2 separate regions of the Homo sapiens genome follow, and region 1 is linked to region 2. Evidence: promoter capture Hi-C in human tissues and cell types (Jung and others, 2019). All regions are on one chromosome and are shown on one strand. Each heading gives the region's core, a stretch centred on a gene start or on the middle of the fragment in contact. The rest is flanking DNA. Distances are from core to core; before and after follow the strand shown.

Region 1 (2,730 bases), core at 6-2,505, 1.7 Mb after region 2:
TATTTCACATTTGGGAACCCATTCAGGACCCAAAGCTGAGAGAGGGTTTGTCATCTTTACCGCCAGGTCTCTAAGATTGCCCTGGGCTTTGCCATCCAGCTAGTGCCAGGATTGAGAGACTCTGGAGAAGATATGCCCCTCTGTTAACCACCTTGATCAAGAAGTGACCCGCATCCTTTCTGCTTGCTTTCATTTGCAGAATGAGTCGCATGGCTTCACACAGGTGTCAAGGAGCCTGGCAAGCTCCCTGCTGGGAGCCATTTACCAGCTGCAACTCCACCCTACGGAAGAGAGAGTAGGCATCTGGGTGGACAATGAGTTGTTCCTGCCACCAGGATCTTATGTTTATTCACTGCCATGATGACCTGAATTATTTTGGATAGAAGACACTTCAGGATTCAATAGGTAGGTTCAATTCCTGTCTCTACCACTTATTTCCATCAGCGCAAGTCAGTTGTTGTGGGGATCATAGAAGGGAATACATTCAAAAGTGTGTGGCGTGGCCGGGCACATTGGCTCATGCCTATAATCCCAGCACTTTGGGAGGCCGAGGTGGGCGGATCATGAGGTCAGGAGTTCGAGACCAGCCTGACCAACATGGTGAAAGCCTGTCTCTACTAAAAATATAAAAATTAGCTGGGCATGGTGGCGCATGCCTGTAGCCCCAGCTACTCAGGGGGCTGAGGCAGGAGAATTACTTGAACCCAGGAGGCTGAGCTTGCAGTGAGCCGAGATCACGCCATTGCACTCCAGCCTGGGCGACAGAACAAGACTCCGTCTCAAAAGAAAAAAAAAAAGTGTGTAGCGGAGAATCTGTCACATAAGAAGCCCTCAATTGTGTTACTTATTTTTCTATATATTCAATTTGTTATTAATTGTGAATGAGAGCTCTTTACGCAGCCACCTCGCAGAATTTTTTATTTGTTCTGATAGTCTGTTCATCAGTATTTGGTTTTCACCATAGACAATAGTATTCTCTACAAAGAGTACAGTCTTGTCCCTTTCTTTCTAATATTTGCATATTTTTGTCCTCATGATCTTGGCAGACACCTCCTATACAATGTTAAGCAGTTGCAGTAACAGCAAACATACTTGCCTTGCTCCCTACTGTCCTGAGAACACTTACAGTGTTTCTCAGGATGCAAGCATGAGCTTTCCTGTCACTTCTGGTAGATATTCTTTATCAATTTAAGAACATTTACATCTGTTCCTTTTTTCTGAATTGCTTTTTTAATAAACTGCTGGATTCAGTTTGCAAATATTTAAATTGGATCATACTTCTCTGATGCTATCCTTGTCCCATTTTGGTATCCAAGTCATGCTAATCTGTCTAGATAATTTATAAAACATGTACGGGATCAACTTGTCCCAGGAGCTTCCCAGTTTTAAAACTGAAAGTCCCACATCTGAAATCACCTTTGCAAAAATTGTAACAGTGAGAAAATTATGGCAGTGAAAGAGATCTGATCTAACCAGCCCCTTGTCTTGCCCTTAAGCTTTCAAATTGTCCTTAATTATTCTTGGGTTTGGGCCAACCTAACTTTGGGAGAGACTTAGTTTATAATTTAAATTATAATAACCCGTTCCCAAAACTCAATCACCTTGGTAAAGCTAATGAAGGGCCATCCTGGTCAACATGGTGAAACGCCATCTCTACTTTAAAAAAATACAAAAATTAGCTGGGCATGGTGGCATATGCCTATAAGTCTCAGCTACTCAGGAGGCTGAGGCAAGAAAATCGCTTGAATCCAGGAAGTGGAGGTTGTAGTGAGCCGAGATCGCACCACTGTACTCCAGCCTGGCGACAGAGTGAGACTCTATCTCAATAAATAAATAAATAAACAATAAATTTAAAGGTGAAGAGAGTAGCAACTAAGAGGAATGTGTGAAAAGGATTTCTTTGGTTCTCTCTGCTGCCAAACTGTGACTCCCATCCCCCTCAGGTCGGGTGTGGAGGGAGCATTGCCCGCCTCTCACCTCACAGTAAAGGAGAGGGCTCGCAGTAGTCCCTTCCCGTCTTGTTTCAGGTTTTATGTTCACTGTGCGCTCTTATTTTTTATTCCCCCTCTCCTTTTTTGCCTGAATTAGTTCATATAGGATAGGTAATGCTGTGGCAACAAGTTAACACTGAAATCTCAGCAGTTTAACACAACAAAAGTTTACTTCTTACTCATTATGCTCAAACTGTAGACTGATCTTTGACCCAGACCCCCCAAAAATCTAATGAGCAGGAGATTGTTGCTTCTCAGCTGCTTTGACGATGGAGCCTTCTGCTGCCAAGACTTGGTTCAGGCAGTAGAAATGTAAGTGTTTATTCATGATGTTGGCTCACTGCAACCTCAGCCTCCCAGGTTCAAGGGATTCTCCTGCCTCAGCCTCCTGAGTAGCTGGGACCATGGGCATGTGCCACCATGCCCGGCTAATTTTTGTATTTTTAGTGGAGACGGGGTTTCGCCGTGTTTCCAGGCTGGTCTCTAACTGCTGACCTCAGGTGATCCGCCCGCCTTGGCCTCCCAAAGTGCTGGGATTACAGGCATGAGCCACTGCACTTGGCCCAAAACTTCTATCTCAAAGCACAGAGACCTTGGGGGAAGCAAAGTTGGAGGCAGAGTGCTGGGTGGCAGGGCCTGAGGAGGCTGATGCAGGGTGGGGTGCATTCGCCAGGGCCAAGGTCCTGTAGAGCAGTGAGCGGCACCTCCACGGGGAGAACCCATAAAAGGGCCCCACAGG
Region 2 (2,806 bases), core at 290-2,789:
TACTGGGTCACCACCCCTAAATAAATACAGTCTGTGGTGATCAAATGATAATTACATCTTGTAATCTAATGCTATCACTTTTTGTGTTAAAAGCACTTAATTGCTCAGAGTAAATATTTTAAATGATTGGACTTTGTTAGCTCCTCATTTTGAGTCTCTTTCATCCCCAAAATATGTGTTCCTTCAGCTCCTGAGAGGACCTCCCCTGGAATTACTACAAGGGAAGCCCAAAGAAAGCTGGGGTTTTGTTTGTTTGTTTGTATGTTTTGAGATGGAATCTCGTCCTGTCACCCAGGCTGGAGTGCAGTGGTACGATCTCGACTCACCGCAACCTCCATCTCCCAGGTTCAAGCGATTCTCCTGCCTCAGCCTCCCGAGTAGCCGGGACTACAGGCGCCCGCCACCACACCCAACTAATTTTTGTATTTTTAGTAGAGACAGGGTTTCAACATGTTGGCCAGGATGGTCTTGATCTCTTGACCTCATGATCCACCCACCTTGGCCTCCCAAAGTGCCAGGATTACAGACAGGAGCCACCGTGCCTGGCCACCGGATTCTTTTTATTACAGACTTAAACTGGACACTGGGCTGTGACCATCAGCAGTGTAATGTGAACCTGGCCTCATCTATGCTCGGATAAAGCACCAAAGAGAACCCTGTGGAAGAAACCTCTGCGCTCCCCTCCCAGGACTAGCACCTCCCGGCTTCCTGCACACCAAGTGGAGGTGAAGATAAAGAAAGAGTCACAGAGAAGAAATAAAACACGTAGCCAGCAAAACACTCCTTTAGATGATGAGAGAGCAGATGCAGGAAGGGGCTCTACCAAGCTTCCTATGTCGTACATAATTTCCAGCTCCTAACATATTTGCAAAGCTTATTACAATAAAACACTCATGTCTGCAAGAGGCATAAAGAGATATTTCACGTCACCCCTCTACTTCTTTGTTCCAGTGAGACTCTCTCTGTGCAAGTACAAGTCATGATAACACAATACATATTTTAATGCAACAAGCCACTGCACTTGGTATCATTATAATAACTGGAAAAATTATATGTGTATTTCTTCATAGCATGTTTTCGTTCCTTTCTCAAAACAAGTCAAAGGCCCCTTTATCAAAGCACACATGATAGGAACTTGAAATGCAGCTTCCATCTAGGGCACACAGGGCCAATAAGCTTTGGACCCAGTTTCTTGCCAAAGCACCTGCAGCTCCCACACCCCTGCCTGGGCCTGGGGTGCTCTGTGCCCCATGCCTGCTCCCCAGGACTCACAGGTGGGCCAGACCGGCCTTGCGCACAGCCGAGGAGATGGCTTTGATGGCCGTCAGCATTGAGTTCAGCAGCTGGGTGAGCTCCCCAGTCCCTTTGGCCTGACGCCCCTTTTCCATAACGTAGCGGGTCAGGGTGAGCATGTCGGTTTCGAAGGGGCTTCTGTCCGTCATTTTGGCTGGAATGCTTCAAATCCTTTTCTCCCGGCAGGAAACCTTGCTTACTTCTGAGGGCTGCAGCTCCGCAGTGTGGAAGCCGATAAGAAATCTGTGCTGGCCCTGCCAGGATCTCTAAGGAAAAGGGCCCAAAACACATGACTCAAACAACTGCTGGGGCCCTCAAGGAACTCCCTCTGGCCTCGGGGACTGTGGCAGCTGCCAGGGAGCCGCAGCAGTCTGTAAATAGGACGGGCTGCCCAGAAACATGGAGCTGCTTTCTCCTGCTGAGCACCCCCTTTCAAGATACCAAGAAGCCACCATTTAGGCACAGGTGGGAGGTGAGAAATCCAGTTGATTAAAAAATGATGCATAAAACCCTCTTATTCCAGGCTCCAAAGGATTCTTCACATATAGTGACTGCAGGGCCTGGCTCTCCCGAGGGCGGAGGTGGCAGATTCGCAGGTTCCTTATCTGGGACGTAGGTCACATAGTAACATAATGGCAACCCCAGAATTCCTTTAGCCAGGGTTTGGAATAAGTTAGGAAAGAATGCTTTTTATTTCCAGTAGGCATGTATGACCAGTGGATATCCACAGTAGAGATCCAGATCCGGAAGAAAACTATTATATTCCTAGCACAGTTCCTGGCACCAGTGTTATTTTGTCAATATCTCTGGATGTCCACTTTTGTAACAAAAATTGCTTGTTAAAAAGGAAACACTAAAGAAGTGGATAAAGACAAACCTCCTCACCACCAGCCCATTCTCCCATCCCACTCTCCAGAAATCACTGCTGCTAGGGCTGGTGGCGGTCTGTGCAGCCAGTAGGCACTGGTGGGGTGCATATGGTGGTGGAAGCACTTTCTCTAGGGCCAGCCAGACCTGGCTGTGAGTCCCAAGCTAGCTATCTGTTGGTTGCATGATTTGAGAAAGTTATTAAACCCCTTGGAACCTCAGTTGTCTCACTCTTAAATGAGCATAACCGTGAAGCATCCATCTTATAGAGTGGCTGCAATGAGATGTACCTAGTATAGTAGGTGCTCAGTACTTTGTTACCTATTATTGCCCTTCCAGTTTTTTTTTTTTTTTTTTTTTTTTTTTTTGAGATGGAGTCTCACTCTGTCGCCCAGGCTGGAGTGCAGTGGCGTGATCTCGGCTCACTGCAAGCTCCGCCTTCCAGGTTCACGCTATTCTCCTGCCTCAGCCTCCCGAGTAGCTGGGACTACAGGCGCCTGCCACGACGCTTGGCTAATTTTTTGTATTTTTAGTAGAGACGGGGTTTCACCGTGTTAGCCAGGATGGTCTCGATTTCCTGACCTCGTGATCCGCCCGCCTCGGCCTCCCAAAGTGCTGGGATTACAGGCGTGAGCCATCACGCCCA

What was found. Contacts are between HindIII fragments. The study calls those that stand out against the background at their distance.
Region 1: a contact is called between a fragment that was not itself captured here and the fragment with the promoter of FBP2 in region 2, in 1 of the 25 tissues and cell types used here (dorsolateral prefrontal cortex).

What each region holds. Positions count from the first base shown.
Region 1 is chr9:96,258,940-96,261,669 of GRCh38, forward strand. The region is part of intron 2 of HSD17B3 (hydroxysteroid 17-beta dehydrogenase 3); the gene reads right to left. All of the region lies in intron 17 of SLC35D2-HSD17B3 (SLC35D2-HSD17B3 readthrough), which reads right to left. Among named protein-coding and RNA genes, the nearest start is that of HSD17B3-AS1, 14 kb to the left of the region's middle. The HindIII fragment of the contact is 4,862 bases long and covers 1-2,730 here.
Region 2 is chr9:94,592,285-94,595,090 of GRCh38, forward strand. It overlaps FBP2 (fructose-bisphosphatase 2), which reads right to left and starts at 1,540. Exons shown (of 7, transcript NM_003837.4): 1 at 1,273-1,540. The coding sequence starts at 1,442. The HindIII fragment of the contact is 6,105 bases long and covers 1,025-2,806 here.